Regions from separate parts of the Homo sapiens genome. Here region 1 is linked to region 2. Evidence: promoter capture Hi-C in human tissues and cell types (Jung and others, 2019). All regions are on one chromosome and are shown on one strand. The core of a region is centred on a gene start or on the middle of the fragment in contact, and the rest is flanking DNA. Distances in the headings are between cores, read along the strand shown. Region 1 has its middle 35 kb from the start of CEBPA. Region 2 holds the start of SLC7A10 (solute carrier family 7 member 10).

Evidence for each region. The method cuts DNA at HindIII sites, captures the fragments that hold promoters and counts their contacts. A contact is called where the count stands out against the background at its distance.
Region 1: a contact is called between a fragment that was not itself captured here and the fragment with the promoter of SLC7A10 in region 2, in 1 of the 25 tissues and cell types used here (spleen).

The regions. Positions count from the first base shown.
Region 1 is chr19:33,264,269-33,269,839 of GRCh38, reverse strand. No RefSeq gene overlaps it. Among named protein-coding and RNA genes, the nearest start is that of CEBPA, 35 kb to the left of the region's middle. The HindIII fragment of the contact is 4,860 bases long and covers 961-5,571 here.
Region 2 is chr19:33,222,365-33,228,591 of GRCh38, reverse strand. It overlaps SLC7A10 (solute carrier family 7 member 10), which reads left to right and starts at 2,742. Exons shown (of 11, transcript NM_019849.3): 1 at 2,742-3,039. The coding sequence starts at 2,889. The HindIII fragment of the contact is 48,714 bases long and covers 1-6,227 here.

The DNA of each region.
Region 1 (5,571 bases), core at 2,141-4,640, 41 kb before region 2:
TGACCCAGGCCACAACCCCCCAGAGGATGCATCTGGCTCCTCAACTCCATCCCGGGACCCCTGGATGGGCAGGGAGGTAGACCGGGGCTCGGCCTCTCAGCACCGTCCCCCATTTACCCCCACACCCCATCCCAAGGCCAGGATGTTCCTGGGGTGCCCAAGCCTGGTAAAGCACCCCTCCTGTGGGCATCACAACTCCAGGGGATCAGGGGCCACCATCCTGTGTGCCCTCCCTGGCGTGTGCCCACCTCCTACGCCCTCCCCCAACACCCACCACAGGCTCCCCCTGAGTGAGGAGTCCCAGGAGTAAGGGGAGCCCACTCTGTCACCCTGCACTCCCTCGAGGGCCCAGGGGCTCCAAAGGGCACAGCTCAGCTTTATTTAAGGGAGCAGCTCTGCTCAGGGGAAGGGGGCAGGGGGAGTGGGAGGAAAAGGATGGTGCCCCCTAGACATGCGTAGAGGCACACTCACCCAGACACACACACACACACACACACACACACACACACCCTCACCATGTACTGCCCAGGCCGGGCCAGGCCTTCTATTCCCTCGGCATCCAGGAATCTGCAGCTCTGCTCCCTGGCAGGCAGGGGTCACCGGCTCAGGGGGTCACAGGCTCAGGGCACCCCCCTACCCCGTGTGTGTGTATTTGCTCATCCACACACATAGGCCAACACGGTGCCCGTAAGTGTCTGCACCATGTGCCTGGGAGGGAGCAGGAGGAAGGGGAGACCAGGCAATCCATATTTTGGGTCCCTTGCGTGAGGCGGGAAGGGCACAAGGGGGCCGTTTAGGGTCACTCCAGCAGGACCCAGGCCCTCCGTGGCCTGGGCAGGTGCTCACATGACAGGCTCCATCGGAGGAGCTGTGGGAGTCTCTTGGGAAAGGGCCACAGTTCACCCTTTGGCAGATGTCACCGCCCCCAGAGGCTCGGAGCCCCCCTCGCTCTGTGGCTGTCCTTCAGGCTGGGGTGACCAGCCCCCCGCCAGGCCTTCAGCTGAGACCAAGAAGCCATTTTGGTCCGTGATGAGAAGAGGAAGTTCCTGCAGCCCCAAAACAGAAACAGGAAGCTGGGAGGGGGGCACAGGGATAGGGAACGGGAAGGGGACGCAGGCACCCGGCAGATGCACCCCAAATATGGGGCCTTCCTGGGGCCCACAGCAGCAGCCATGTCTGGGTGTCTCTGCCCAGTCCCAATGCTGTGGGCCTCATCTGGGCCCAGCTGTGCCCACCAGGAGGGCAGACTCCCTGGGGACCTCAGATGCCCGCCCGCTCCCTGCCTGAGTGGCTCAGTTGCCCAGGCTTATCTGGCTCTGACTGAGAGGGCTCTGTGAGTGGCTGGAACCCCTCTGTCCACCCAGATGTGCCTGGCCACGTGCCTCTCCTTGGCCCCCAAGCGTAGCCCTGTGGGATTCTCCGCAGCGCTGGCCTGACTCCTTGACTCAGCAAGTCCAGGTCACCCTCTGTCCCCACCTCTGACCGAGCCCCCTGGTCGTGAGTCTGTGCGGCCGCCTGTTGGGTTCTGCTGTTCGCCACTGAGTCCCAGCCCTGGCCGTTTCCCCAGCTGTGATGTGACAGGGTCCCAGGCCCTCACCCAAACTTGGTAACAACACTCAGGACTGCCTGCTCAGCAGAGGTGGAGCCTGGACTCTGTTCCCCGGGGCCCCCTGCCTCACACTGTGTCCTGACCAGCCTGCCCTTTGCAGACCCCTCCTGCTCTGTGAGATGAGAGATGGAGTGTCTGAGAAACGTGCATGGGTCCCAGCCCGTTGTGCCCCCAAGCGGAGGGACGACAGGATCTAGAACCACGCACCAACCTCCGGAAGTGGGGCAGCTCCCAGTTCACGCAAGGGCGAGCTAGGCTGGGGCCACGTGGAAGGCAGGACAGCAGCTCCCACTCAGGGTGGGCATTGCCTGTGGCTCCTCGCTGGGTCTGGAGGCTCCTTCAGGAAGACTCTGGGGGTGAGGGAGCGGGGGCGGGAGTCAAGGGACCAGAGAGGCACATGTCACCAATTTCAGTTCTGCCCCAGCTGGCCTGAGGCAGCTCGGGACTTCCCAGGGTGGAAGGATAGGTCCGGGGGCCAGGCTACTTGGAGGCAGGGCCAGGTCTTGAGGACCCCCTCCCCAGCCCAGCTGTCTGCCGGGGAGGCAGCTCTGGGTTCCTGGAGTGGGCTGGCTACGGAGGTGTGTGCCTCCCTGGCGGCCCTCATCTCTCCCGGAGCCCTAGAGCAGGTCTTTCTAAGACTTCCCACTCATCAGCCCCGGCCCAAGATTATCACTACAAAAGACGTCCTTGGCCCACTGTCCCCTCAAAATGAAAGCTTTAAGAACAGCTGCCCAGAGGTGTCTGAGAAAAACTCCAGGATGAGAGTGAGGGGTACCAGGCCGTCAGCTCTCCCCAGGCTGAAGGATGAGGTGGAAACCACGAAAGCCCCCAAAACAAAGCCATCTTCTCCACACCTCCAGGCTGTTCCCTAAAGAAGGAAAGCGGGGAATGGGGTGGGGAGGGCGAGTGGAGCCCCCGCCTCGGGCGGTCAGCACCGGCGTCAGCAGGGAAGCAGGCCCCTGGCCAGGGAGCGCATCTGACCGGACCGACCGTGTTCTTGGGAGATCAGTTGTGAAACTTGCATCAAACCCCCAAACCACAAAAACGGCCAGTTTTCCCAGCTCTGTTCTCATGCTTCTCAGACCAGCCGAGGAGTCTTCAGCATCTCCAGCCGAGAGAAGCCAGGCCAGCTGCCAGCGCCGGGGGAGGAGAAAACCCCAAGTGCCTGGAGACCCGAGCCCCAAGTTTGCCTGAAGCACCCTGCTCCCTTCAACGAGCCTGGGAATGTGAGGTCTGGAGAAAGGGTGAGGCCTGGGCCGGCTCCACTGCACCTGGAGCCGGGTGCAGTGGCTCACGCCTGTAATCCCAACACTTTGGGAGGCCAAGGTGGGAGGATCGCTTGAGCCCAGGAGTTCAAGCACAACGTGGGCAACATAGCAAGACCCTGTCTCTACAAAAAATACAAATACTAGCCCAGTATGGTGACACATGCCTGTAATTCCAGCTACTCAGGAGGCTGAGGTGGGAGGATCACTTGATCCCACTAGTCTGAGGCCAGCTTGGGCAACATAGTGAGACCCTATCTCTATAAAAAATTAGCCAGGCATAATGGTGCTCACCTGTGGTCCCAGCTACTCAGAAAGCTGAGGCAGGAGAATCACTGAGTCTGCTAGTTTGAGACCAGCTTGGGCAACATAGTGAGACCCCATCTCTATAAAAAGTTAGCCAGGCATGGTGGTGCATGCCCGTAGTCCCAGCTACACAGGAGGCTGGGGCGGGAGGATCACTGGAGCCCAGGAGTTTGAGGCTGCAGTGAGCTGTGTTCGTGCCACTGCACTCCAGCCTGGGCAACAAAGCAAGACCCTATAATTAATAAATAAATAAATAAATAAATAAATAAATAAATAAATGGAAAAAGAAAACTGGAAATCAGAATAGAAGGACCCAGAAGCTGCCAGGGCCACCTCAGAAAGAATTCTGGAACACTGTTGCCTTGGGAAGATAACATCTGGCTGATGGAAGGTCAGAGGCAGGTTACCAGGGAAAGACTCCTGTTTGAAAAGAAGGTCACCGAGGCATCCCTCGTGTCTTCCCACTGCATTTGGTGCACAGCACATGACTCTGGTTCTCTCTCATTCAGGGCCTGGTTATAGCAGAAAGTCTGGCTCTCACTGAGCAAGGACCCAGATGGGGACACTCAGAGAGGTGGGAAAGAATCTCCCCCACCCCGCCAAGGAGGGATGCAGCTGTGCTGTAAGTGATGGTTAAAGCCATCTTTAAGAGAGGCAGGGCGCCATGGCTCACTCTTCTAATACCAGTGCTTTAAGAGGCTGAGGCAGGAGAATTGCTTAAGGCCAGGACTTTGAGACTAGCCTGGGCAACACAGCCATCTCTACAAAAAATACAGAAATTGGCTGGGCATGGTGGTGCCCACCTGTAGTCTCAGCTACTCAGGAGGCTGAGGTGGGAGGATCACTTGAGCCCGGCAGTTTGCAGCTGCGGTGAGCTATGATCGCACCCCAGCACTCCAGCCTGGGAGACAGAGTGAGACACTGTCTCTAAAAAGAAAGAGGGAAGAGAGAAGATGCCCGTAGCTGCTTTAGGTGACAAACGGCCTTGAAGCCGTGAAGGCCCACTCCCTTCCACAGGGAATGCAGCCCCATCTCCGCAAGCCAGTCTCTGAGGCCACCCCTTCTTGCTTCCTCCGCCAGATACCCTGCCCAGCCCCCTCCCCCAAAATGAAGCCAGGTGGGGACCCTCTGTGCTGCTGGCCTCCAGGCCCTGCCCTGCTGCCCCTGCCTTCAGCCCCTACCACCCACACCACCCTGAAACCCTTCCTCTCCCTGGCCACTGTACCTCTCCCAGACCGGCGGTTTGCCTCCAGCTGGAGCCTCCTGGAGGCTGGGAGAGAACCCCTCGCCTGGGTTAACTTTAGTGGTGATTCTAGAAGCAGGACGCTGCTGAGGAAAAGGCCAAACTGTAGCTTTGTCCGCTCCACCCCAAGCCTTTGCCTGAGCTGGAACTTTCCTCTAACAAGCCCTGTAAGAGGAGCTTCACACCATGCTCCCTGTGTGAACCATGGTACCTGTGAGTATTGGCAATGATATTATGCCAATGTGCTATTATGTGCATTTAGCATAAAAGCCACTTGTAAGTAGTCACGTGGCAAGACCACGGCTGGGGCCCAGAGAATCCTGCTGGGGGCCCATAACATGGGATTGGCCCCCTGGAGCTAAGGCCAGGGCTGCAGTGCAGGAGGCCCACACCCGCAGGGGATCCTGCCCGAGGGGCAGGGCTGGATGAGAGGCAGTGAGCCCAGAGCATAGACAGAAGACAGTGGGCGTGTGTGTGTCTTGGTCACTGCGTGCGTCTCTAGGTAACTTTGGTTTGCACGTTTGTGAGGTTGAGCGTCTGTCAATGTGAGTTTCCGTGCATGGCTGGTGACTGCATTTGTGTGTCTGTGCATGGGCCTGGGTACATCCGTGTCTCTCGGTGTGTTTATGGATCTGTTCATTCAATCACTGCCTGGTGCGGCCAGGCCCTAGACAGACTGGAGGGCTCGGTCCCTGCCCCATCAGGCCCACAGTCTGGCAGGAGGTGAGCAGGAAGTAGGAATTACACCCATAATCCCTAGGCAGGATGGTGACAGGGGGAGCTCACGCCTCGAGGGTGGAAGCCCCGAGACAAGGGACCTGCTGCAGCTTGGCACTCGGGGACCCTGGATGCTTTCATGAAGGACAGGAAAGCCGAGTGCCATAGGAGGCATGGGAGTTGTCATGGGGAGGAGAGTTTTCCAGGCAGAGGGGAGAGCATTTGCAAAAGCCGGGGCACTGAGGAGGGGTCGAGGCAGAACTGCAGGTGCTAGGAAGCCAAGGGGTGTGGGAGGTGAGGGCAGGAAGGACAGGAGCTAGACACGCAAGCCTGGAGGCCACCATGATAATGGTGGCTGCTTCCTAGAACCGTGGGAAGGTGAAGTTCGGAAAGCAGCCCGATCATGTGGTCATTTAATAATACGACCATTC
Region 2 (6,227 bases), core at 1,493-3,992:
AGTATAAGTCCTCCAGATTTGTTCTTCTTCACATACTCTTTAGAATCAGCTTGTTGAGTTTCATCCCTCCAAAAAAGCCTTGTAATCAACAACAAAGTTGTCTGGTGCTTTGATCAAAATTACATTGGATGTATTTATCAATTCTATAAATCAATGTGGAGACCAACATTTTAAATTCCAATCCATGAACATGGTATATCCCTCCATTAGCTTATGTCTTTAACAATTTCTCTCAGAAATGTTTTGTAGTTTCTTGCATAAAAATTGTACACATCATTCACTAGAATTATTTTTAGGTATTTGATTTTATGCTATTATTAATTTCATTTTCTAATTATTTCTAGTATATAGAATACAATTAGTTTCTGTATATTAAACTTCTGTCTAGCGACTTTGCTAAATGAACTTATCTTCCTTAAATTAACCTGTAATTTTTTTTCTACATACTGAATCACATCATATGTGAATGGCAGCTTTATCTTTCCCTTTACTATCTTCATACCTTTTTACTTATTTTTCTTGTCTTATTGCTCTGGCTAGGACCTCCAGTACACTATTGTATAGAATATTGACAAGTGCCAACATCCCTTCTCATTTTCAATCTCAGTAGAAAAGCATTCACACTTTCACCACTAAACATGATGTCAGCTGTAGGGTTTTTGTTTGTTTCTTGGTTTCTTGGAGATTTGTTTTTAGGTAGATACTTTTATCAGATTAAGGAGGTTCTCTTCTGTTTCTATTTGCTAAGAGTTGTTTGTTTACATCACGGATGACTGTTTTTTGCATCTGTTGAGGTTTTCCTTTTTTCTCTCTATTAATGTGGAGAATCATGCTGATTGGTTTTTGGATGGTAAACCAATCCTACTAACCTTTTGTTCCCATTGAAATTTGCAGGTTCTAGTTCAATTCCACGAAAAGGACCTCCTGAGCTATGGGGCCTGGCTGACAACATACAAACTCCATCCTGTGCAAAGCCCTAGGCCGACCTTTCCCCCACAAACGCATACTCCACATTCCAGGTCCCAGAGAGACACCCTCGAAAACCACAGGCTTCAGAGCTGCGAGGCTTGCGCCAGCCCCTGCCCCTTGGCAAGCTGCCCCTGATTGCACCAGCCCTGGCTAGACCCTCTCCCAGCAGACCCTAGAATTGCGAGGGCAACTGGGGGGCTGGGGAGAGTCAAACCAGAAGGTCGAGGCCTCTGGCCCCTAACACCCGCGACAATCAGGGGTCTCCGGAGCCAGGGCTGCCCCTACCCTGCGCGAGGCTCCTTTAAGAGAGTCGGCCTCTGAATGGTCTCTGGGGCTGGAGGTGGAGGGCGCCAAGAATGCCGGTCTCCGACGACAGAAGCGAGAGGGATGCAGCTTCGCCGGGTGGCCTCCCCCTCGGCGTCCCACCAGCACGTCCACCCTGGATCCTCCCGCTCCTACTCCTACCCCAAGTCCCCGCCCCCAACTTCGAAGCTCCTGTGTGCCTGCAAACGCCGGCCCCGCCCCGCTCCCACCTCCAGGCCCTGCCGCTGCCAGGGACCCGCCCCTGCCAGGGACCCGCCCCCGCCCCGTCCCACCCCGGTCCACCCTGCAGCCGTCGGACCCCTGGCAGGGCCCCAGCAAACCCGGAGGCCGCCACTGGGGGGAAGGACGGGGCGCCCGGCGAGGCCTCATCCACATGCAGGGGACGGCGCGTCGCGGCGGCCGCCAGGAAGAAACAAAGGCTGTTCCGCCGCCGGCCGCACAGTGCCAGGCTCGCCCCGCCCGCCGCCCCGGTGGCCCCGACGCGGCCCCCCTGGATCTTTTCCGCCGGCCTCGGCTGCACAGTCCGGACGGCTTCCGGGAGGAGGCAGCCTCCCTCGGATCCCCGCACTCCCGACCCTCTCCCGCGACCACAGCCTCCTTCTCCGTGTCTCCCGGGCATTCCAGGTCGCCTGGCCTTCTTGAGCCGGGCTGGATCGCGCGGGACCTGCACCAGAGACCCGAGTTCTAGTCCGCTGAGCCCTCACTCTGACCTGGGACGAGGAGCCTGTAGTGAAGATCTCAGGCCAGAGGTGGCCCAGAGCCTGGTAGGGTGGGCGAGCCGTGTCCAGGACTCGTCACAGGTCTTGGGTCCCCGTGATGAGGATGAGAGCCCCCGGGATCTTCACCTCGACCCTCAGGCCTTTGATCCAGGGTGCATAGGACACCCAGACCCCTCAGAGGAGTTCCAGACCTCAACCCCCACCCCTCCTGAGGTTGTCCGCCTGGGAGCCTCAGGAGGCACGAGAAAGGGTTTGGTCTCAGCCCTGCACTTGCTCGGCGATCGCTACTGATCTCTGGGCTTCAACTTCCACCTGTAGAATGGACTCACCCTGGGAGCTGTCTCCTACACACACACACACACACACACACACACACACACACACACACACATCGTGCAGGCATAGAGTACTAAAGGGAGCACACACTGCATCCCCACACGCGGCCAGCTGTTATTCTTGCCGTCCCCCTCGGCCTCCCTGAGAGCAGGGATTGTCTTGTCTCGGAGCTCTGCTCCCCAACCCGGCCCCAAGAATGGATGTAACTCAGGCAACTGGAGGGTCCCTTCCTTCGCCCAACTGGGAAGTCCTTCCTAGATCTGCCCCAAGTCCTCTCCTTCCTTCCCAGGCCGGGACTGGGGGAGGGGGCGTTCCCTTTAAGGGAGGTGGGGGAGGGGGCTGTGGGCCGGCCCTCCTTCCGCCCCTCCCGGGCCCCCGCCGCCCGGGGCCCCCAGTCCCGGGCCCGGAGCCAGCGCATGCGCCCGCCTGTGGGCGCTGTCCCGGCTGCGAGGGCCGTGAGCTCACGGACCGACGGACCGACGGGCGGCCGGCCGGACAGACGGGGCAGCGCAGGGAGCGGGGACGCGGCGGGACAGCGACATGGCCGGCCACACGCAGCAGCCGAGCGGGCGCGGGAACCCCAGGCCTGCGCCCTCGCCCTCCCCAGTCCCAGGGACCGTCCCCGGCGCCTCGGAGCGGGTGGCGCTCAAGAAGGAGATCGGGCTGCTGAGCGCCTGCACCATCATCATCGGTGAGCGGGACCCAGGCGGGCGGGCGCCGGGCGGAGGCCGAATGAGGGGCGCAGCCGCTCCGAACGAGGGGCGTCCCCTCTCCGGGCGCTCGGACGGGTCTGCCTGGGGAACCTGCAGTCTGGCCTCAGAGAGCGCTATGACCGCGGGGAGGTCAGGGGCTGCTGGCCCAGGGTGCCAAAGCTCCGTGTTCCCACCTCCCGGCCGCCTGCACCTGGGGGAGTTTTGGGTCCCCTCCACCGCTGGACTCTTCCTCCTGACTCGATTTTGCTGCGGGGCTTTTGCAAGGCAGTTACCCTCAGTTTCCTCATCTGTGAAATGGCCATGACTGCAGTCCTGCGATTAGCGCAGGAACTTGACCAGTGTAGGGGCTGGTCAGGCTGCGGCAGGCTGAGCTCCCCAAGTTCTGTACTGTGGGTCAGTCTGAGTACCTACTGTGTGCAGGGTCCAGGTGCCACGCAGTGCAGTGACTTTATTCTTGGAAAGCAGGAGGGCCTATGAGCAGAGTGAGCAAGCGCAGCCTGCGCAGAAGGGACGGAGGTTCAGAGCAGGCAATGACTGCAGGGTTTGGCAGCAGGACCCAGGAGAGGGGGCGGGTTAGCCAGCAATTGGGGGCAGCAGTGGGCAGACCCAGCCTGCAGAAGGCCAGCTGCTCCCTGAGCTGGGATCCTGGTGGGCACTGGACACTCGCCTGGTCTGGAGGCCCTGGACTCCAAAGTCCCCACCTGAGAATGGGTCCATGTCCTGCCCCCACATAGGGGTTTCTGGGCAGGCAGAGAGCTCAGAGGTCATGGGAATGGCAGTGGTATTTTTCCACTCTCTGTCCCAAGTCATGGATACTGACTTGTTTCTTTGTCTACACAGAGTGCCTCTGAGCCCCTCCAGGGAGGGACAGGAGAAGTGGTTTGGGGGGTGAGTGACTGGGGCCTCGACTGTTCTCACCTTACCGCCAGCCAGTCTTCCCGGTCCCCTGCCAGTGAGAGCCACTTGTGTCTTCACTGCCTTCCCACCCTCAGACCCCTGGAGATGGAGAAAGTTTGGGGGCTCAGTAGGGCAGACCCAGGGTCTTCACCTCGTCCTCTCCCACCCCCACATTAGCAGCTCTTCACATCCAGAGTTGCCCCTGAACACAGCCCCTGGCCAGGTCACTCCGCCATCTCACCCCCTCCCCTTAGAATGCTGTCTCCCAGAGCCTGGTCCTGACCTGGCCCTGGGAGCTTCTTGGCCTAGGATGCCCCTGCCTGATGGACGGTCTGCTGGAAGGAAGGGCTGGTTCCAGGGATTTGGCCAGGGTGCTGGTTAGAGCTTTTTCTTGGCCCACACCCTCTCCAGGAACTGTCCTCCAGGGAAGGGGAAGCTCACACCATGAGTGGGTCATAGGATTGAGACCATGCCTAGAACCAGCTACAGTGCCAGGCAGGTGCAGAAAGACACAGCTCTGCCTGGGCTCCTCAGCTAAGCCCAGCATCCTTGACCTGTCTTCCTACTCTATCCCCTCCCCACATCCCATCCTCCCCAGGCCACAGGGAGGCTGCCTGGCTCCTTTCTCCCCAGAAAGGGGCCCTGGTGGTGGTGGTGGTGGTGGTGGTGGTGGTGGTGGTGGTGGTGGTGATGGTAGAGGTGGTGGTGGTGGGAGTGGAGAAGGCCAACTCCACTATCACCCTCCTTTTCCAGGACAGACTCTGTAAGTTTCCCATGCAGCCCAGGTCTGCCCTGACAGCTCCCCTACCCTTCAGTTCCTTCCTGCTGTGCCAGGTCCACTACCTTGGCCTCCAAACCTTGAACACTGAGCCAGGGTGAAGGGCCACTTAGCTAACCAAGGATGCTGGATTCAGCTACAGAACCCAAGCCCGGGGCACTCAGTGGTGGTCTTGGGGAGCCTTGATCTTGGCCTGGCCCGGGGAGCCTTTGAGGATTACAGCAGGCAGGAGGCTGGACGAGGCAGGAAAAAACAAGGAGATCAACCTCAACCAGAAGGTGATAGGAGGTGGGGACTGGGCAGGTGAGGACTGAGCTGGGGTCTGCACTGCCTTCCCCACCTGATGTACTAAGGGTCTCCCCTCCCCAGCCCACCCCACCTTTCTGCCCCAGGTGGGCTCACTCTCTCTCCACCAATACCCTGGGGAGCCTGGTCAGAATCAAAAATGTCTGCAAAGTGTCATATTTTAGCTCTAAAAGTCAAGAACTTGACGTCCTGCTTCCTTTCCTTTCCTTTCTTTTTCTTTCTTTTTTTTTTTTTTTTTTTCTGAGACAGAGTCTGGCTGTGTCCCCTAGGCTGGAGTGCAGTGGCACAATCTCAGCTCATTGCAACCTCCACCTCCGGGGTTCAAGTAATTCTCCTGCGTCAGCCTCCCAAGTAGCTAGGATTACAGGCACACACCACCATGTCCAGCTAATTTTTGTATTTTCAGTAGAGACAGAGTTTCACCATGTTGGCCAGGCTGGTCTCGAACTCCTAACCTCAAGTGATCTGCCTGCCTTGGCCTCCCAAAGTGCTGGGATTACAGGTGTGAGCCACCCTGCCCAGCCAACGTCCTGCTTCATAATCTACCTTGGTTTGTTATTGTTATTGAACATGTTATTTCCAAAACTTCCACAGCGACCCTCCTAGGAGATCCTGTCACTCTCTCCCTCGTGTATACCCTCTGCTCCAGCTCAGACTGGGAATTGAGGCTTTTGAGAATGGGAAGACCTGGAAGGGTGGGCTATGGGCTGGCGTGAGACTCATGTATAGTGTGTTTAGGGCAGTGCCCGCCGGCCACTGCAAGCACAGATGGAAGGGAATCGGCCAGGCTGGAGGAAATAGAACTGGCTGGGGCAGGGGCTCTGCAGGACATCATCACATCCAATATCTGTTCAGAAAAACACCTCTTACTGCCTTATGAAAACATGTTCTTCCTTTATCTCATTTGAATCTCATGCCCACCTTGCAAGGTAGGAATTTTTATACCCATTTTACAGAGTGGAAACTAAGGTTGGAAGTGAAATGATACTGCTCCAAGGGGTAGGCTCAGGATTTGGAACCAGATTTGGGCTCTGTTCCCAGTCCAGTGCCTATTTTATTTTATTTTATTTTATTTTATTTTATTTATTTTATTTTATTTTATTTATTTTATTTTATTTTATTTTATATTTTATTTTATATTTTATTTTATTAAAACAAACTCTTGCTCCATAGCACAAACTATAG